Linked DNA regions of Homo sapiens: regions 2, 3, 4 and 5 are each linked to region 1. The links are contacts of gene promoters, found by promoter capture Hi-C in blood cells and fetal thymus (Javierre and others, 2016). All regions are on one chromosome and are shown on one strand. The core of a region is centred on a gene start or on the middle of the fragment in contact, and the rest is flanking DNA. Distances in the headings are between cores, read along the strand shown. Region 1 holds the start of MON2-AS1 (MON2 antisense RNA 1). Region 2 overlaps MON2 (MON2 regulator of endosome-to-Golgi trafficking). Region 3 overlaps MON2 (MON2 regulator of endosome-to-Golgi trafficking). Region 4 overlaps USP15 (ubiquitin specific peptidase 15). Region 5 overlaps MON2 (MON2 regulator of endosome-to-Golgi trafficking).

Region 1 (4,357 bases), core at 587-3,086:
AGTAGTATAGTCTCCTATAGTCTCAAGTACCATAAAGAAGTAAATACTTCTCATGAAATTTTAAAAAGTTAACTAAAAATTTTTCTCAGTATTAACTGTACTCTTAATTATATAGTTTAGAAACTATATACTGACTAATTTAAACTCTGTTTTGAAGAGCCTCTGATTTTCAAGATGATAGTGGTCTATAAATCTACAACTTTTAGGTATAATTGCTTTAAATACTTCAGAAAAAATACTAGGATAAAGTTTAAGTGCAAATATACCTCCTCAAGTATATGGGCTCTGGATACTACGAAGATTAAAACATGACTATTAATTGTATTTGCACCAGATCTGTTCTAACTTGATTTGAATAATGCAAATTGAATTAAAATGAAATTAACAGCCTGCCTATATATTTAAATCATACCGACTAAGTCAAAATTTTTCTTACTCATCTTAAGAGTAATTTATTAGACATTTTACTTGGGATAGAATGCTGGAATAACAGTGATCCTCTGAGGAAATCAGTCTTTTTTTAAAAAAAGTCTTCCACAAACTATAAAACCAATAAAAATTTGTATTATTGGAGAATAATTAAGGACTTACCACGGTATCAACAATGATATTAGCAACAGTAAATATTTTAAATATTTACAGTGATATTCTAATACGATTGGCCTATGGTAAGTCTCCAACATAAAAATATCCAGGTCATCATTTTTCTTTAAACACCAATTTCCCCACAGTAGCTAATCTGCCTAATGTACATCTCCCATTAAAACCCACATGCTGGCCGGGCGCAGTGGCTCACGCCTGTAATCCCAACACTTGGAGAGGCCGAGGCGGGAGAACCCCGAGGTCAGGAGTTCGAGACCAGCCTAGCCAACATGATGAAACCCTGTCTCTACTAAAAATACAAAAATTAGCCAGATGTGGTGTTGGGCACCTGAAATCTCAGCTACTCGGGTGGCTGAGGCAGGAGAATCGCTTGAACCCAGGAGGCAGAGGTTGCAGTAAGCCGAGACCACACCATTGCACTCCAGCTGGGATAACAAGAGCAAAAGTCCATCTCAGGAAAAACAAACAGACAAACAAAAAAAACCCACTTGCCAGCCTTCCTAACCCTACCATGTGCACCTCTGCCTTTACCCACCACTTTCACTATACCACTTCTCAATATGCACACAGAGCATTATTTACTTCTGTGCATAATGTTATAAAACTATTGGGTGTTTTGATAAGACTGTTCAAAATCAGGGAAAAAGCTGTGGGAAACAGATGTAATTGAGGAGCGCTTATGCTAAGGGCAAATTTCCAGCAAAGCTGGATAGCCTAAGTGAAATCCACTCTTGCCCCCGATCCTTAATCTGACCCCAAAAATCTTAATTTCATTTCATAACACTCTGAAATCCCACCAGTTACAGATTTACTGGTATCCCTTTTAAAAAATGTAAAGTATATGAAAGTTAAAGAGATTATTTACTATTTGGACTCTGTAAATTAATTTAATAGGACTACTTTCCTCATAGATTAGCTGAGATCAACAGCACTACTGGAACTGGAAATGCAGATTAAAGGATCACTGAAGCAAGCACTGGTTACATATGTAATACTTGGGAGTAAGTGGCTAACGTGGAAACCTGGTGATACCATGGTAGCACACTGTAGCAGGAAGAACATGGGCTCCTGAACACTCCTGGATTTTAATCTGGTTCTATCACCTTTCCTGTGACCTTGGGCAAGTAACTTAACCTCTTCACATCTCAATTAGCTCTACTATCAAATAAGATAATATTTCCCCACAAGGTTGTTATGTAAGATAGAATGACACAAGTGCCTTGCATATAACAGATTCTTAAAAAAAAAAAAAAAAAAAAGCCAGTTTACCTCTTTTCCATGTTCATTATTGAGGCAAGAACAAAAGGCACCAAGGAAGAGAAAGGAGTGGACTGGGTAGAAAAGAAGGATGCCAAAGAGAAACTCCTGAAAATTCCTCCTTGAAAATCAGGTTCAATCAAGAGAAGGTAAGAAAACATTTTTGTTTTCTTTTCTCTACTTCACTCTCATTCTTTTTTCATGATCATACTGCCTTAATCCCAAGACTCAAAATTCATACGGTACAACTAAATACAGAAGACTATGTTATGAACTGTTCGTATTATATTAAAGAGAAAGTAGATCACAGAAGGTGGACTGAGAACAAATCTTTCATTCAATACAATGGAACAAATATTACTGAATGCTTTTTATGGTGTGTCTCAGGTGATTAGCAGGAAGTGGAGGAGAATGCGAAGATGAGTAAGAAAAAATTCCTTGCCTTTAAGGAGTCAGTAGTGTTAAGCTTTCTGATTTCAGAGAATTTTTGTAGCATTCGTCTCTGGGAAATACAGTCAGTTCATAAGTTATGGACTTTTGCCCATTCTGTTTCATTATGAATAGCATATGTTAGGGCATGAGGAAGAGATGTTACAGAAAACTGATGGCTTTTACAATAAAGATTCTACTTTTACTATTAGTCAAATTTTTGTTTATTATTAAATTTTTAATACAAAAAATTACCTGCCAAAATTTCAGTGTTTCGTGCAGCAATTGTTTTAACTTTTATTATTCCTGATTCAGCAGCCTGCAAGAATAAAAATAATTAGAACACAAAATTTACTGCCAAAATGAATTATCTATGGAAAATAAGTCATATGTGATAGACAAAATATCAAGCACAAAGTCAGTCACTACCCTACCACCTTTTTAATTTTCAAACCATCAGATACTAAGCCCAGTAGTGACATATACGTTAAATGTAATAAAACATGATTAATTTGATTATTCACATGCAAACTCTGAATGCACTACAACATGTTGCCTTCCTCTGCCTTAAGGCATTATCTGGAATACCTCAATCCCCTGCAAAGTTAAATTTTCCGAGAATAAAAATAACAAACAAAAACAAAATCTACTGAAAATAATTAGGCTCCTTTTCCCCATTTCAAGCCTCCTCTCTCTCCACCACACACAAAAAAATTATAGAACACTGCAAAATCAAGTAAAACTACTGTGTTGGATTTATTTATTTATTGTTGATGGAGTTTTTTGCTCTTGTTGCCCAGGCTGGAGTCCAATGGCACGATCTTGGCTCACTACAACCTCCGCCTCCCTGGTTCAAGCCATTCTCCTGCCTCAGCCTCCCAAGTAGCTGGGATTACAGGCACCCACCACCATGCCTGGCTAATTTTTGTATTTTTAGTAGAGTGTTTTATTTTTGTACTTTTTGTATTTTTAGTTGGCCAGGCTGGTCTTGAACTCCTGACCTCAAGTGATCCACCCATCTCAGCCTCCCAAAGTGCCAGGATTACAGGCATGGGCCACCGTGCCCAGACCTGTGTTGGATTTTAAAAGCTACTTTGTTTTCTTTTTTGAGAATGGATAACCAAACACTTCATTAACCGTAGTATGTTTAGCGGGCAGTACTGGCAAGTCACATAGTATTTTACAGAATGCCACAGAACTGCACTGTCCAATTTGGTAGCCATTTGGCTACATGTGGCTATTAAGCACTTGAAATGTGGCCAGTCTGAATTGAGCTATGCTCTAAGTGTAAAATATATACTAGGTTTTGAAGACTTAGTATTAAAAAAAAGAATATAACCTATCCCCTAAATATTTATACTGACTACATGTTGAAATAATATTTCAAATTATTACGTTAAATTATTATTAAAATTAAATGTCTGTTTCTTTTTACTTTTTTTCCCCTTTTTTTTAGAGACAGGATCTTGCTGTACTGCCCAGCCTGGAGTGCAATGCCACAATCATGGCTTACAGCAGCCTCAAACTACTGGGCTCAAGTGATCCTTCCACCACCGTCTTCCAAGGAGCTGGTACTATAGGTACATGCCACCATGTCCAGCTAATTTTTCAATTTTTTTGGTAGAGACAGGGCCTTGCTATATTGCCTAGGCTAGTCTTGAACTACTGGCCTCAACCGATCCTCCCACCTCAGCCTCCCAAAGTGCTAAGATTACAAGCATGAGCCACTGCACCTGGCTTCTTTTTACTTTTTAATGCAGTTAAAAATTACGTATATGTATTACATCTGTAGCCCACATTATAATTCCATTGAAGAGTGCTGAGATATAATATTGACATATTATTTCCATCATAGAAACTTGGAACATTTTTATTATTTAGAAACATGCTATTTTATACATACACTGTTATCTATACTTCCAAAGATAGTAAGTACGTACTCATAAGAAGCTATATGTACAAGTTTTCTTATTAATTTGCTTGCTACTTGGTCATTTATTTTATCTCTTACTGCTTGCTAAGGGACAAGTGGTAGCAGTCTCTAAAGGTTTAAAAATAATTATGTAAA
Region 2 (4,357 bases), core at 827-3,326, 110 kb before region 1:
AGGTTCCTATTTTATGATTTCATTTTAATCTGTACTTGTCTTTTACTGTACTTTACATACTTGTTAAAAGGTCTGTATTCCCTATAAAACTGAAAACTCCATGAGGACAGAGACTAACCCAATGCTTAACGCAAAAACAGGGTCTAAACAGTTGTTAGTGATACACCAGTATTTAATTGTATAGTCTTGTATCCAGTATTATTTTATATATGCGGTTTCCTTGACTAGCTGTAATAAGCACTTGAGAGCGCTCCAAATAGCTTCTGTCATACAGCAAGGACACAGTTATTAGCACACAGTAGATTCTTAACATTCAGTGGTTGTCTGGTGAAAGGCAAAAAATTGGTCCCTATTGTGGGAAGACATGGATTTTCTGGCCATTCTTGAATGATGTGTGCCAAATGTGTTTTACTTCCCTAACCACCTAGTGGTGATGATGCTCCAGGCACAGCGCTTTAGAACACACTACATTTTGAATTCTGTTAAATACCACGATTAACTCCATTTCACAGAGGAGGACACCAAAACAGGTTAATTAACTTGCCCAAGGTCACACATTTAGTAAAATAACAGAGTTGGGATTTGCATCTAAGAAGCCTGGCCCCAGACTCTGGGCTCTTAACCACAATGCTGTTATTTATAACATAACTTCTTAAAACACACAACATATGTTTTAAATAGATAAAATGTTTTAAACCTGGACCAATAATAAAAACCCAATGCAACTTTCAAGGTCATCGTTAAGACAAATCTTTTTTTCACAGTATTTTTAGTTCTTTGTTATGTTCAAGTATATTTGTCCCAGTGCCCATCATAGAAATAGTAATTGCCTCAAGAGTATTTTTAGTTTATTTTATAAGTCTTGGATTTTAATGGACTGTAAAACATGAAACTATTGTACTGTAGTAGAAAGAACTGCTTTTGAAAAAGCAAGACATAGTGATCCACCTGGACTTTAGGTATGTGACTCTAGGCAGCTCACTTCAACCCCCTAATCCTTGACTCTTCTGTAAAATGAAAATAACTTCTTTGCAAGGCTACTTTGAGGATTAAAGGGAATAATATAGGCAAAGCCTTGGCCTGCACATACTAGGTACTCCAGAAATGGTGGTTAAAATTACGCATCAGAAAAATTATTTTAACTATATCTGACTGCAGTACACACTGAGTAACGTACAAATTCTTGTTTTATACTTTCATTACATAACAAAAAAAGGAATTTTAATGCAAATTATTTTCTTTGAGAGGTAGAGAGATAGTCTGGCATTGATATGGACAGGCAGTTTCAAAACAGCTTCACCAAATTAAAAAAAAATGCTCATAAGATTAAGATAATCTAATCTACATCAGGATTTTTACTTGACCTAGCATTTTTACTTAAAGTTCCAAATCTTTCTTTCTAAACTATTGAGAGACACTTCGTGTCTTCTGTTTATTATTTTTTCATTTTATATATTAATGGTTTTAATAAAGCTCTCAAGAACATTTCCCCTTTACTCTATAATTTTTTTTTTCCCAAAGTGATCATCCTAAACATGTGACTCACTACTCGTAAAGTCTTTAAACAGAGTAAGTGATGTGGGGTGTCAATAATGTTTCAGACTTAACGGGGATGAGAAAGCAAACACAAAGTATATTCAAGAAAAAAATGAATCACTGGTCAGATCCAAAGGTAAATTATCAAAGTGGTTATGATTTTAAGTTATAAAGAAACACTAGTGTTGCTGGAACATAATTAAAAACCTGGAATCATGCTTAATGTTAGCTGTAAAACAAATAAACAATCTGTACAATCACAGTTATAACTATATAGCTTTCATGAAAAATCTATCCTAGACTACAAAGAAAATTTGGGTTTGAGGCCAATACAATTTCATGATTATAATACATAACTGATACATCTCAACAACATAAAAATTGTAAGGAGAAAGAGTAACAACAGTGGTATTACTTTCAAGAATTGTGTTGGGAACTAAAAAATAATTTCACAAAATTAGATAAATATATCCAGTCTGACATAAACACCATATGGTAGCTGCCTTAAGAGACAGGAGTTGTATGTTACGTGTTAAATTATGACACAGAGGTAGTAGTAAGAGATGGAAAGCAAATGAAATTTGCACAGTTGGGTCTGAAGCCTAATATTTTCTTTTTCTAGATAAAAATAAAATTGCAATATAGGTATGGAGTATTTTTCTCCATCTAGTAAACATCATAGAAGGAAGCAGTTGTTAATATATTGCAATGATTTTCCAAATAACGGCATGGTTTAGCAGATCTTCCCTGGCTGCACTGTTTATTGAATTTTAGTTTAAAATAAAACTTAGTGTAACTACATTCGCAGCAACTGAAAATGGTCTGAAAATTTAATTTTTTCATACTTGAGGGGATAGAATCAATACCATAGTACAATTAGGAAGGTTTCAATTGACCTCTGGGTGACCTCTGGGTGAACCAATCACACAGACACCAAATACACTCCAGAAAGACTCAGATATGAGAACTATAAGATTCCGGGTCTTCCATCAAAGACTGCTTTGCAACAGAAAAATGAAAATAGTTGAAATACATGGGCAATATGCTGCCTCAAATTATTCTTGTAAGTAGGCAGTGTCAATATAAATCAATATTAAGATGGGATAAATCTAAAAGTTTAAACGTCTGCCTCAAAAAAACAAATATCTCCCCCACCCCCCAAAATCATAAAAAACCAAAACCCTAATTAAAAATATTTTTTTGAACTAGAGATAGGATCTTGCTATGTTGTCTAGGCTAGTCTCAAACTCCTGGCCTCAAGTGATACTCCCACCTTGGCTTCCCAAAGTGCTGGGATTACAGGTGTGGGCCACCACGCCAGCCAAAACCCTCATTTAAACAGGTTTTAAATACTTTACTTTGAGAAAAGATATATAATCTCTCTACCCACATAACAGAAAAGACATGATTATTCCAAATTTAGGTGCTGAATCCATCATATTTATAGCAATCCCATTTTGTGAGCATCTTGGCTGCTGAATCCCGTGTATTCATAAAGACAGTAGGAGTTATAGTCACAATTTTTTTTTATTTTTAGTTTTTTATGGCACTTCCAGTTTTTGGAACATATTACTTTAACTTGTTCAGCTATTTCAAAATGGCAGGGGAACTTTACCTTGGCAAAAACGCAACAGTGGCCAAAGTGCAAAGTATTTCTACTTTCCACTTTGTAGTGGTAGAACCATGAGCAGTGGTTCTACCACTAACAGCTCCACTTCTTATGAACAAGGAATAGGCACAATTAGAGAAAGAGCTGAAAGAGAAGAGGCAGAGAATGAAAGAGGAATTAAAAGAGAAAAATCAGGGGAAAGTATAAGAAAGATGGTAACGTAAACATAAAATTTAACAAGGATAAAAACATAAAAGAGAGAAGGGGAGGGAAGAAAGTGATGTCCAAGAAAAAGGAAGAAAAATGGTCAAAGATCTCTCTTACAATATAGTAATAAATTTATCAAACAACTTGAATTACCCTGTCATTAAAATCAACTCCACACTCAAATTATGCATTTTTTCCTCTAAAGAATTAGTAACTCATTGATCATCATCTCTGTTTAGAAATAAGGAAACCGCTTTGAAAAGTCAACATGCCTAGAGTTAAATAAGAAGTAGCATCTCTGTCCATCATTGCCTCAGAATTAGTCGAGATGACCAAGAATATTCATATAGAACTTGCCACATGTTCTTTTAAATAGCCAACACTGTTAGAGCATTAGAAAGTATTGGATTTGTAAGACATTTAACTTCCTCTGAAATGGTCTGTATATAAATCAAGATACAAAGATATCATCTCTCTTTCTGAATCTATAAACACTTTTCATTCAAATGAAAGCACTATTCTACTTTCCAGAGATACAAAAACTTTAATTCAAGTGATCATGAAGTATTAAAGACTTTTCCCACTTTATATAAATTGGTAAAATACTATGTGGCATGAACTCCCATTCTTCTCATGAATGACAATTTTTTTAAAATAAAAATTCCCTCTAATAATGTAGATAAATACAACCCAGGAACACTAAGCATAGTAAAATGTGATGCTTTATACAAGATTAGCTTATCTGCCAAAATGCCAAACCTAAGTGGAAATCTAAGGAACATACCTGGCTGCTGGCAATGCTTTCAGAGATCATTTTTGTCTACATCTGTGGTAGTTTTCTCTGAAAAACTGTAATCCACAATATTCTGAGCCTGTACACTAACCCATTCCAAGGGTGGCACAGTTAGGGACTCCTGTAAGTGTTCTGCCTTGGCTAGACAGACTTCACCTACAGCAGTCTCTTGAAAACTTGGTTGCCCATCTGAATTATTCTGTATTTGGGGA
Region 3 (4,357 bases), core at 1,132-3,631, 90 kb before region 1:
GGGTGTTCAAGATCTAGCTGTGAACAGGACAGACTCAGTCCATTTCTCATAGAACTTAGATTCTGGTGTCCAAGTCCTAAGCTAACTATAAATTGGTAGTAGGAACTAGAGTAAAAAAACTGAAAGAAATTTACCCAAACCTGAACCAATCAGAGGAATTTCACAATCACTGCCATCAAAGCAGCTTCACAGACTATATCTGCATCTCTAGAGACAAAAGTTGTGTTTAATTTTAATTTATAACCAAGGAAGGTAAGGGTTTAGTAATATTAAAAGATTTGTGATGATGGTGGAGGTAACTAAGGATGAGTTGATGATCAACAAAAAATGAAGAGGCAAAAATAATAAAATAATATTAATATTATTAGTGTGTATATTTCTATATTATTAGTGTTTATAGAAATATACACACTAACAATATTAATACTTTTAGTGTGTATACTGTGTGCTAAGGTGTATTAGTGTGTTTATTTCAACACATTAATAATATTAATATTATTTGGATCATATATCAGAAACACTGAACTAGATTTTTAAAATATCATATGATGAGGGAAGAGAGTAGCATACAAAACTAAAAACTGGATAACTAATAGTTATTTAATTTATAACTAGCAAACATATCAAAAACATCGATTGAGCTTTTAAAAATGCTGATTAACAGAATTTACCTATAAATTATAAGGGGCAATGGTCAATACTGCAGGTTACAAATAAGCCATGTAAGATCTTAAATTCCTTAAATTTGAAAACTACAGTAATCTTTAAAAATTTATTTTCATGAATCTTTATTTAAAATAAAAAAGAGCCTTCAAACTTATAAAGTGTTATTTGTATTTTGTCAGTTCTCTCTGTATGACATATTAAAATTTTTGTTGCAATATAATCTATATATTATAAAATTCACCCTTTTAAAATATACAATTTAGTGTTCCTTAGTATATTCATAAAGTTGTACAACCATCACCATTTCTAATTCCAGAACATTTTGATCACCCCCCCAAAAAGATCTGTACCCATTAGCAGTCACTCTCCCTCATCTCCCTTCCCCTCAACTCCTGGGAACCATAAATCTACTTTGTCTCTATGGATTTGTTACTCTGGATATATCCCATAAACAAGATCATACAATATATAGCCTTTTGTGTCTAGTTTCTTCCGCTTAGCATTATGTTGTAAATGTTCATCCATGTTTGAGCATGCATTAGCACTTCATTCTTTTTTATGGCTGAATAATGTTCCACTGTATGAATACATTACATTCAATTTGTCTTTTTTGCTACTATATTACATTCAATATATTGAATATTGAATATATTACATTCAATTTCACTTTTTTGCTACTATGAATAACACTGCTATGAACATTAGTGTACAAGTTTTTGTGTAAACATGTGTTTTCAATTCTTTTGCACAGTACTTTGTGATTTTTAATGTAAGGTCCACAGATTGTGTAACTTCCCACTCACCCATTGTGTCTCCTTTATAACTACCATGTTTTGGTACTCAAAGTTGGCTAAATGAATTTCTAATAGACTTCAAGTGTCTACCAAATTGCAGTCCTTGTGTTTTTCAACTTTGTCTTTTTCTTTCTCTTAAACTGTTTACTTATAGCCCTCAACGACATGCAAAGGCTTTCTTTTCTGCTAGTTCATTTTATTTGTATTTTCTGTGTTATTGTATTCCCTTGCCAAAGCATCTTGCAGATCAAAAAGTTTGGGGAATATTACAGACAGAGATATGTTTATTCTTAAAGTCTTAGAGTATGTATTAATTAGGTTAAAGGATTTATAAAGGTACCAATATAAAAAATAATCAAGTATTAGTCTTATTTAAATTCATTAAGTCTTGCTATTCCAAGCAACTTTCCAAAACAATCTTCCTACTGTTCAAACACTACTGATAAACTTCAGCTATAGAACATAGTACATATGTGGCATTAAGTAAGGTTTAAAATCTAAAAGTTTATGACCTCCAAAGTTATCAATTATTTAGAAAATAAAAACAAAGAGAAAACCTGTTATGAAACTGAAAATGTGCATGGTTTTTAAGTTCTCTTAACACTGCACTTTTAGTATCAACTGACCAATAAAAGCTTTCAATTTGAGCCTTAAAGTATTTTTGAACTATGAAACAAAAACTAAACTGGCTTTATCCAGTATAAGCTGTCCATGATTAAACATTCATGGACCTTTACAATTACTCCAACAAATAACTTTTCATCTTTCTTTGTTGAGACAGGGTCTCACTCTGTTGCCCAGGCTGGAGTGCAGTGGCACAGTCACAGCTCACTGCAATCTCAACCTCCTGGGCTCAAGTGATCATCCCACCTCAGCATCCCAAGTAGCTGGGACTACAGGCACATGCCACCATATCTGGCTAATTTTTAAATTTTTTTTGTAGAGGCGGAGTCTCACTATGTTGCCCAGGCTGGTCTTGAACTCCTGGGCCCAAGCAATCCACCCAACTTGGCCTCACAAAATGCTGGGATTACGTACTCCGGTTGGCCTTCTTTTTGTCTTTCAAATAAAGAAAATAATGCCTAGTGATGGGAAAGGACCAGCTCACGATCAACAGAAAGTAGACAGCAAGTCAGGACCAGGTCACAGGTCTCCTGACTCTCAATCTAGGGTGTTCATCAACTACTCCATGGAGTAGAAAGCTTAAATCTGTAACTAGAATAACCATAACTTAGAATACTGATACTGTGTTACTTGAGAGCTGAATTTAGAAGCTTTATTATTTTTAGCCATTAAAAATAACTCCAAGCCTGGGCAACATGGCAAAATCCCATCTCTACAAAAAAAATACAAAAATTAGCTGGGTGTGGTGGTGCATGCCTATAGTCCGAGCTACAAGAGAGGCTGAGGTGGGAGAATCACCTGAGGCCAGGAGGTCAAGGCCGCAGTGAGCCATGAACATGCGACTTCACTCCAGCCTGGGTGACAGAGCGAGACACTGTCTCAAGAAAAACAAAAACAAACAAAAACCTCCAAATTTAGAGCTAAATTTCCAAGTCTCAGTCATTTAGAGTTTTGGCCTTTAGAATTTTGGTTTAAAATAATAGTTGTTTCATGGGAATTAATATGGATAATGTCACCTTTTTTAAAAGAAAGAAAAAACATTAATGACAATAATAGTGGAAACAAGCATTTTAAAGTACTTACATGCCAGGTGCTATTCTAAGCATTCATTCATTTTAAGTGATTTAATCCTCACAATAACCCTGTAAGTTAGGGAGCATTATTATTGACATTTAACAGATGAGGAAAAATGAGTCACTGAAAGGTTTAATAACTTGTCTAAAAAGTAGTACAAAGTAGTACTACTGGGATTTGAATCCAGGTAGTCTGGTTGCCAAGCCAATGCTCTTATCCACTATGCTGGCTGCTTCTTAAGTAATGTATTTTCCAACACACCAAACATACTCAAACCTTTAAGGTAAGTAGAGCCATAATCAGGCAAAATATTTTAAATGAAATTATACTACAACTGCATTGATACAAAATTATGTAAAATACTATTATTTGGCCTTTGGTTCCAGTGTCCACTTTTCTATATTAAAAAACTTCAGAAAACGGGATTTAATAAAATAAGAATAAAGTCCAGAAAGTGAAGAATATTTAATAAGAAATTCAAGAATAAGGAAGATGGCAGAAAAACTCTCAAGAAAAACAAAAACAAGCAAAAAAAAACCTCCAAATTTAGAGCTAAAATTTTAAATGAAATTATACTACAACTGCATTAATACAAAATTATATAAAATATTATTATTTTACATAGAAAACCATTTTTTTTTATATACAGGATCTTGCTATGTTGCTCAGGCTGGATTTGACTCCTGGGCCTCGGCAATCCTCCCACCTCAGCCTCCCAAAGTAGCTGGGATTACAGGTGTGTCACCACACCTTGCTAGGGAAAGCAATACTTAAAGAAGTTTTACTCATTGCAAAAAAAAAAAAAAAGCTGATCTGAAAGCTTATTCAATTTGTTAATGGGGCATTAAGCATATATAGACAATTAGAAAATAAAAGGAAAAATGTAAATTTCTCAACCTATGTGCTTGATACAAATTAACAGTGACTCAGGCTCTTATGTCTACGAAGGAACTCAAATTTTCAGAGTTATTTTAAAGATGAAAACATAATTTGTTTGAATATAGTTTATGAGCGCCTATAATTTTTCCTTCAGAAACAGAGTATGCTTACATTGGTATCAATAACATTTCTAGAAGTGAAAAATACATAAACTACAAAACAAAGTCTGACCACTTGCAAGACAGAAATTAGGATCACCTGTTATTATTTTAAATTCTGAACTATAAGACAAACTTTTACTGGGAAAATGCAAGTTAATC
Region 4 (4,357 bases), core at 1,158-3,657, 83 kb after region 1:
GGGTAACTTCATCATTTCCATAGATACCACCAGCAGGAAAGTGTCTCTTTTATGGCTTCTAGGACTTTCATTAGTTAGTGTGCATACAGTTTTCATTTTCTATATCATTGTCATTATCATTGCTATCTTCATCACTTTCTAATGGGATGCCAGTGGCAGCTGAAGCACCTTTAGTTTCTCGGTCAAGAGGAAAAAAGCCAGTTCCACTGAAAGTGTCTTGTCTCTGGTAGAAGAGTACATATGCTGCTTTGGACTGTCAAAACAAAGGATGTTAAAACAGTTATGATTCTCAAAGATCACGTTAAATACATTATGAATTTTTAGCTGGTCACCAATTTTGGTAAGAGGGCATAAATCAAATAGAAAAACCATGCATGGTCAAATGGAAGTTACTAAAATTCATTAAATATAAGATGATTTCTAATAAAGAATCGTTATTAGAATTACAAATTTTTATGTGCTTCTAAATTATTTGGACAAAGAAATAAATGCAACTGTATCACAGTTCTAACTGTGATACACAAACTGTATCACAATTCTAACGTAAAAATAGAATTCTATGCTTTCTTTCCTACCATCTCTTAAGGAAAAGGTAAATTCCTCCCTTCTAATACTAGTCACTTCATCCCATGTTTGCTGTAGAGTCCAACTTTTCCTACCATCTTAAGGATGCTGTTCCATCAATCATCACTGTGTATCTTCAATGAGTCCTTATCCACTGGACTTGTCTCTTTGGCATTAAAAAATACCTAAGGTTTTTCCTATCATAAGTCCCTCTCCATTCTACTTCCCCTTCTAGCTGCCATATACCTCTCTTCCTCTTCCTCATAGTCAGGGTGATAAACAGAGTTGTCAATACTCATCATTCACTCTCATGCACACTTCTCAACTCAAAGTAATCTAGCTTTTCCCCAAACCATTCTAGCAAAATGGCTTTCAGCAGGGTCAATAACCTAATAAACAACTGAAATGGGTGACCTTTCCAGTTCTTTTGGTCAATCTCTCAGTAGCATTTAATGCTTCACTATTTCTTTTCCTATCAACAAACAATTTTTTGCTTCTGTGACAACACTACTCAGATCTCCTACTATCTCTTTGGTTTCTTCTCAGGCTCTTCTGTGGACTTATTAAATCCTGACCTTTAAACATACTATGTTCTGTCCTCAGCCCACCATTGTCTCAACCTGAATCCTCTCACTAGGTGACTCATTTAAACCTATGGCTTCAACTGCTGCCTGAGGCTGACAACTCAAATGTATAACCTAAATCAGTTCTCACCCCTGAACTCCTGTCTTATGAGTCCAACAACCTAATGGAAATTTCCACACAGCTATCATACAGGCATCTCAAACTTCAACAGCAACTATTCTTCCTATATTCCCAATCTTGGTGAATGGTGAAGTAAAAGTCATCTTAAACTTCTCCTTCTCTGGATCTCTACATCTATTATCCTTATTATATCTTTTATCAAGTTATATTAATTCTGTCCAGTAAATATCTCATAAATCCATTCTCCCCTTGTTTGTATTGTTCTAACTACTATTTTAATTGCTTAAATTATGTGACAGCCTCCTGTATGGCTTTTCTGTTTCTTTACTCAGTGTCTCCAATCTATCTTCTATGATGTTCTCAGAGAAATGTTAAGATACAAACTGAACAATGTTATTCTCTTGTTTAACAATCTAATGGCTACTCATAGTCTGTAAGAAAATGTCTAAACAACTAGAATGCCACTTTTCTTGATCTAAGCGCTAAATTTATCTCCAGACTAATTTCTTCCCCATGTCCCTTTAAGAGCTTTTCCTTTGAGTCACATCCAATTATGTGCTGTTCCCTTAAAATGTCACGCTTTGTCATGCCTCCTTGTTTTTGTAGATACCGTTTTCTTTGCTTAGAACACCTTTTGTTTAATTTACTCTTATTTTTACTAGACTCAGGTCAGACATCATCTTTACCACATGAACTTCCCTGTGCTGGTTATTGTCCCCTCAAACCCCAAATCTGAGTTGAGACAGAAGTTCCCTTTCTAAGTGGCCATAGTAAGGTATTTAATAGTACTTATCATGCTGTAATTGTTAATTTACTTATCTTCTTTGGTTTATAAATCAGAGATAGCTATCTTTTAAACTCTGGACTGAGTGACAGCTATCTTTTTAACTCTGTTTAGAATGGAGTCTTTTGTGTATCTCTCTCTCTCTATATATATCATATTCAATTTGTTGACTAAATGAAGAATCATCATTGTTAAAATGCATGGCAACCTCAAATTTGTATACTATATATAAACAAGATAACTGTTTATTTGAAGCCAAGATTAGGGCAGTGTTGTTAAAAAGACTGATGGAGGAGGTGGGCAATTTGAGGAGAACAGAATTGATTTTCTTTTGCAGAAAAAAAATTAGGAGTTTAAATATAAACAAAAAATGTGGTTAATTAAAACTAACACAATTTTAAAAATTTATAGTATTCAAGTCTCTTTTTGTCATAGATATAGGGAGAGAAATAACAGTATATATATATATATATGTATATATACATATATATGTATGCATCTGTGTGTATATATACATATACACACACACACACAAACCCATACTGAGAGTCAGCGGTGGATGATAAACTGATGTAAGTGTGAACAGACGGAACTTCCTCATTTTTTTTACTATTCAGAAAATATCAAAGTAGTAAGTACACAAGTATTAATCTTTTATAAATCTGTAATTTGTTTTATCTAATTATGTCATTTTGAGTTTAGTTAATTTTCATAAGGCAGGATATGACTTTAAAGATCACAGGTACGGTAAGGTACTTCAAGGATTTTTTTTCTCTTGTTTAAACATTCTGGCTTTAAGTACTCAATGTCTAGAAAGTTAAGAGCTGAATCTACTTTCCAAAGCAAAACTTAATTATTTTTATTAGAAACTCCATGTTGAAAACTACCAAAAATTTTTTCACCTTGCAATTTATGCTTTTGTTAGTGGGCAAATTTAGAAGACAAATTTCCATTTAGGGGACAATTTGACATTTCTTTAAATAAGAGTTAGTGTCTTTTAGCTACTCAAGCTGCTAGAATATAGACTACAGTGTTCCATGAGCCCCTTTTATTAATTTATATTCACTCCTTAAGACAGTGAATCCCATAGTTCTCAGGAAATATAAGACAAACTTACCACAATTTGGTCTTCAGATGCAGTGGAGACACTACTGTCATCAAAATAGTACCATTTTCCATCATCTTTATTTTTTGCAAAAGCAGTATCTAATGAAAAAAATATAATCACTGTGACGAAAATGATCTTGGTTTTCTGGGGACTCCTCAAAACTCTATAATCATCTATATAAGGAATATCTATTAACACTGATAATCATCTATGAGGCTTATTTATTACATATTCAATTGATTCAAATGATTTCTAATTTCTACAATTAGATGCCAAAAATAATTTTCATGTAAGTTGAAACATTCTTTTTTCATCTCAGGAAAAAACAGATTATTTTTAAATTCACATAATAACACTAATGATAATAAATGGTAATTAACATTCATGTAGTGCTTACTGTGTACCAGGCATAGTGTTATGCACTTTACATGTATTGTCTCATAAAGAAGGTATTATCATTATTATTCTCCCCACCTGAGAGATGGGAAATTAAGGCATCAAAAGAAGGATAATTTACTCAAGGTACTATACTGTTAGCTAGCAGTTAGGATTTAAACCTAGATCTGTTTCTGACTTCATAGTTTGAAATTTCAACTTATTATTAAATTTTCTATGACGATTTCTTTTCTGATACCTCTACTCATTATGCTATAGTGTTTTTTTTTTTTTTTAACACCAGAATCTCTTTTAGTCTTTAACAAAAGTGTAGTCGGTCCTGTGCATACATGGGTTCTGCGTCCCTGAACCCAACCAACCACAGATCAAACATATTTGAGGAAAAAAAAAAATTCCACAAAGTCCTGAAGAGTAAAACTTGAATTTGCCACGTGCTGAGTACTATGTTCAATTTATGTGAATGAAGTGACGTGCAGGCATTGTATTAGGTATTATAAATAATCTACACATACAAGTATATGAGAGGATGTGGTTAGGTTATATGCAAATACTACAATATTTTACATAAGGAATTTGAACATCTGTGGTATCCACTGATACAAAGGGATGACTGTACACAGCAAGAAAAAGGCAAAAAGTGATTCATTAATCCACATAATTTTTAAAGATCTGCTTTATCTTTAAGTTAAAAAAATGCCCCTTTCCCCATCCCATGCCTTGTATAAACTACTCAATAACTGAAGAAATAAAGTTGCACAATGTTTCCAAAATAATTATATGTGGTCATTGTTTCTAAAAAG
Region 5 (4,357 bases), core at 705-3,204, 72 kb before region 1:
CCAAAACTCCATCTCAAAAAAAAAAAAAAAAATTGAGGTATAATTTACATACAATAAAAACACAGAATTTTAAGTAAACTGTTTAAAAGAGTTTTGACAAATTACATTTTAAAATGTCAAACAATTAAAACACTTCTACCTGTTGCCATCAAAGTTTAAAAGTCTCATGAATCACTATATTTGCCAATCAGAATGGTGACCTAATATCAGATTTAGAATATCCCGTGCCATTTAGGGAGAAAAACTCCTGCAATTTCTCTATTAACATATTTTATGTCAGAGAAGGGGTCCCTTTAAAAGAGTAGATATAATTATATATTGCACGTGGTTATGTTAAAAATATAAAACTTATTCTAAAATAACAAATATCATTTCTTAAAGTTATAAAAAATTATCAAAGACATTAACTGTCTTATGTCTTCATTTAAAAAAAATCTAAATCTAGGCTGGGCGTGATGGCTCACGCCTGTAATCCCAGCACTTTGGGAGGCTGAGGCAGGCAGATCACCTGAAGTCAGGAGTTTGAGACTAGCCTGACCAACATGAAGAAATCCCGTTTCTACTAAAAATACAAAATTAGCCGGGCATGGTGGCGCATGCCTGTCTGTAATCCCTGCTACTCAGGAGGCTGAGGCAGGAGAATCGCTTGAACCTGGGAGGCAGAGGTTGGGGTGAGCCAAGATCGTGCCATTGCACTCCAGCCTGGGCAACAAGAACGAGACTCCATCTCAAAAAAAAAAAAAAAAAAAAAAAAAAAAATATATATATATATATATATATATATATATATATAAATCTATTCGTTCTCAGCTTTTAAGAGAAATATCATGAAGGTACTAAAAATGATGCTCATTTTGTCAAAACTTAGCAAATGTACAGTGAAAATTTGTGCATTTCACTGTACGTAAATTTTATATGAAAAAATCCCAATATTTAAAAATACATATACCAAGCCCTAACATGCTAAATGGATCAGACACCATAAATAGTTTTTGGAAAAAAGGAGAAAAAAGTGCACATAAAGAACAATATACAAAAATGCTTATGGAATGAGTAAATATGCTTGTGCTTTAACATAAATTAGTTTAAAAAATGCCAAACACGAAATAATAAAATAGATAATATGTACAACATGCTCATAACTATGTACAAAAGTATCTCTGTTCACCTTTTTCTACCACCACCAGCATTACCACCAGAATTGAAAGTAGTATAATCGGCAACCAGGTTTCTCAGTCTTAGTCCATTGACATTTCTGGTTGTATAATTCTTTGTTATAGGAGGCTGCATTGTAAGATGTGTAGCATCAACCCTTGCCTCTACCCTCCCCAGATAGCAGTAATGCTCAACCTTCCCCAGTTATGACAACTAAAAATGTCTCCAAAATTGCCAAATGTCTTATGGGAGTATAATAGGCCCTGTTTGAGAACCACTGATATACACAACCAACAGCTTCCTAACCAGTCCAACAACATCCTGTCATCCTTCCTTGTTGCCATTCCATTCTACATATACACTAAGACATGCACTTTGTGATCTTTTTGAAGTGCATATTTGATCATGTCAAATCATGAATTAAAATCTATCAGTAGTTTTTTTCATTGCTCTTAGGATGAAATCCTTTTTTTTTTTTCGAGACAGGGTCTCACTCTGTCACGCAGACTTGAGTGCAGTGGCACGATCTTGGCTAACTGCAGCAACCTCCACATCCCAGGCTCAAGCAAGCCTTGCAACTCAGCCTCCCAAGTAGCTGGGATTGCAGGTGTGCACCACCACATTTGGATGATTTTTTATTTTAAAAAAATTTTTGTAGAGATGAGATCTCATTATATTTCTCAGGCTGGTTTCAAACTCCTGGGCTCAAGCTATCCTGTTGCCTCAGCCTTCCGAAGTGTTGAGATTATAGGCATGAGCCACCATGCCCAGCCTCCTAACTTTCTCCTAACACATTCTACATGATCTGGATGATCTGGCCTTTCACTACCTCTCAATCTCTTTGATAATCAAACTCTTTCTTATTCTCCTCATTCTAGACCTTTAAACATGCTAGCATCCACCATCTCTTTTCCTCAATCTTCTCCTGTCTCTTTTACATTCTCTCATTGACTATAAGGCTCTCCACACTTCGTCTTACTCTTGCCTGATGAACTCCTACTTACCCTACAGATCTCAGGAAAACTATTGCTTTCTCAGGAAAGTCCATCTGGAATTCACTGGCCAGGTCAAATACTTACCGAAGCTCACAAAGTACCACTCCTTGTAACACATCATTGTAGAAATTTCGCCTTTATTTATGTAATTATGGGTACTTCCTCATGCCCATGATAGCAAGAATGACGTGTATTTTGCCTTTCATTGTATCCTCTAGAGGCTAGCCCACAGTAGGTACAAACGAATGAAAACACAGATGCTTACACACACACCACACATAAAGACTAAGTTAAGATAGACTCTAAAAGAATCGTCTGTATTTTCCAAATTTCTTTTAACATTAATTACTTGTATAATCAGAAAAAAATGTACGTATACCTAAAGGCTGCAGCAAATATCTTCTAGTGTTGAAGATCCTTGCTACTCCAGCCAATGTTAATACCCACGTCTCAGCCCATTGCTTCTCGGCGGTGTCCCTTGAATGATGAATGAGAATATTGCCACCTCCAGACTCAATCTTTTCTTTGTCTGCAGTGGTAGAGGACTCTCGAACTCTGTCCAGTAGATGAAAGAGTACCTAAATATTTATTAAAATGTCATTTAAAATGCATTGATAATATAGCTTAAGTAATAGCATAGGAGCAACAGCATAAGAATCTACAAATTGTTACAAAAAATATACTTGACAGTCTTATCAATCCCTATATATTGGAGGAAACTGACCAATAGAGTAATTATACATTCTTTTTTTTTTTTTTTTTTTAGATGGAGTCTCACTCTATCATCCAGGCTGGAGTGCAATGGCACAATCTCGCCTCACTGCAACCTCTGCCTCCCAGGTCCAAGTGATTCTCCTGCCTCAGACTCCTGAGTAGCTGGGATTACAGGTGTCCACCACCACACCAGCTAATTTTTGTATTTTTAGTAGAGATGGGGTTTCATCATGTTGGCCAGGCTGGTCTCGAACTTCTGACCTGAGGTGAACTGCCCGCCTCGACCTCCCAAAGTGTTGGGATTACAGGCGTGGGCCACTGTGCCTGGCCATAATTATACATTCTTAAGTTTATCATGGAATATAAAAAAATAAGGTTGGGCACAATGGCTCACATCTGTAATCCTGGCACTTTGGGAAGCCAAGGTGGGCAGATTGCTTGAGCCCAGGAGTTCAAGACCAGCCTGGGCAACATGGCGAAACCCAGTCCCTACCAAAAAAAAAACCCAAAATTAGCTAAATGTGGTGTTATACATCTGTAGTCCCAGCTACTTGGGAGGCTGAGGTGGGAGGATCACCTGAGCCCCCAGGAGAGGTTGAGGCTGCAGTGAGCTGTGATCATGCCACTGCATGCCATCCTGGGCAACAGAGTGAGATCCTGTCTCAAAAAAAAAATTAAATTAAATTAAATGGATAAAATATAAGACTTGTTGAGGCATCAATGGAGAATTTATGGGTTAATGTATAAGAAAAGAACAAAGCTGGCCAGGCGCAGTGGCTCATGCCTGTAATCCCAGCACTTTGGGAGGCCGAGGCGGGCGGATCACGAGGTCAGGAGATCGAGACCATCCTGGCTAACACAGTGAAACCCTGTCTCTACTAAAAATACAAAAAAAATTAGCCGGGTGTGGTGGCGGGCGCGTGTAGTCCCAGCTACTCGGGAGGCTGAGGCAGGAGAATGGTGTGAATCTGGAAGGCGGAGCTTGCAGTGAGCAGAGATCACGACAAAACAAAAACACACACACACAAAGGTAAGGAGAGGGGTCCAGGACAAAAGTAGAATTACTGGAGATGGCTCACACCTGTAATCCCAGTGCTTTGGAAGGCCATAAAGTGGGGATGATTGCTTGAAGCCTAGAGTTTGAGAACAGCCGGGGCAATATGGTGAGACTATCTCTACAAAAAAAATTTTAAAAATTAGCTGGGCTTGGTAGTGTGAGCCTACAGTCCTAGCTACTCAAGAGGCTGAGGTGGGAGGATCGCTTGAGCCTGGCAGGTCAAGGCTGTAGTGTGCTACGATCAGGCCGCTGCACTCAAGCCTGGGTGACAGAGCAAGACCCTATCTTTCACTCACAAAAAAAGACCAACTGTAGCCTATGAATAATTTCTGTGTTTCTCAAAGTGTGGTCTCTGAACTAACCAGCAGCATCAAGCTTCACCCAGGAACTTGATAGAAATTCAAATTCTCAGGACTCACTCCAGGCCAAAATAATC

The links. Contacts are between HindIII fragments. The CHiCAGO score rates a contact against its expected background, and 5 or more counts as called.
Region 2: a fragment that was not itself captured here is called in contact with the fragment with the promoter of MON2-AS1 in region 1 in 2 of 17 cell types (total B cells and naive B cells); the score reaches 5.3 in total B cells.
Region 3: a fragment that was not itself captured here is called in contact with the fragment with the promoter of MON2-AS1 in region 1 in 6 of 17 cell types (naive B cells, total B cells, total CD8 T cells and 3 more); the score reaches 8.0 in naive B cells.
Region 4: a contact is called between a fragment that was not itself captured here and the fragment with the promoter of MON2-AS1 in region 1, in 5 of 17 cell types (naive B cells, total CD8 T cells, total B cells and 2 more). The highest score is 6.2, in naive B cells.
Region 5: a fragment that was not itself captured here is called in contact with the fragment with the promoter of MON2-AS1 in region 1 in 4 of 17 cell types (total B cells, naive B cells, naive CD8 T cells and 1 more); the score reaches 6.0 in total B cells.

Annotation. Positions count from the first base shown.
Region 1 is chr12:62,482,421-62,486,777 of GRCh38, reverse strand. MON2-AS1 (MON2 antisense RNA 1) reads left to right here and starts at 1,836. Exons shown (of 2, transcript NR_186172.1): 1 at 1,836-2,009; 2 at 3,746-4,357. MON2 (MON2 regulator of endosome-to-Golgi trafficking) reads right to left here. Exons shown (of 35, transcript NM_015026.3): 2 at 2,545-2,608. The HindIII fragment of the contact is 7,471 bases long and covers 1-2,328 here.
Region 2 is chr12:62,596,274-62,600,630 of GRCh38, reverse strand. It overlaps MON2 (MON2 regulator of endosome-to-Golgi trafficking), which reads right to left. Exons shown (of 35, transcript NM_015026.3): 35 at 155-4,357. Among named protein-coding and RNA genes, the nearest start is that of MIRLET7IHG, 4.3 kb to the left of the region's middle. The HindIII fragment of the contact is 7,638 bases long and covers 1-4,357 here.
Region 3 is chr12:62,573,003-62,577,359 of GRCh38, reverse strand. The region is part of intron 30 of MON2 (MON2 regulator of endosome-to-Golgi trafficking); the gene reads right to left. Among named protein-coding and RNA genes, the nearest start is that of MIRLET7IHG, 28 kb to the left of the region's middle. The HindIII fragment of the contact is 567 bases long and covers 2,098-2,664 here.
Region 4 is chr12:62,400,089-62,404,445 of GRCh38, reverse strand. It overlaps USP15 (ubiquitin specific peptidase 15), which reads right to left. Exons shown (of 22, transcript NM_001252078.2): 21 at 3,171-3,259; 22 at 1-253. The coding sequence ends at 71. Among named protein-coding and RNA genes, the nearest start is that of MON2, 65 kb to the left of the region's middle. The HindIII fragment of the contact is 6,516 bases long and covers 1-4,357 here.
Region 5 is chr12:62,554,365-62,558,721 of GRCh38, reverse strand. MON2 (MON2 regulator of endosome-to-Golgi trafficking) reads right to left here. Exons shown (of 35, transcript NM_015026.3): 25 at 2,530-2,728. Among named protein-coding and RNA genes, the nearest start is that of MIRLET7IHG, 46 kb to the left of the region's middle. The HindIII fragment of the contact is 4,688 bases long and covers 1-4,298 here.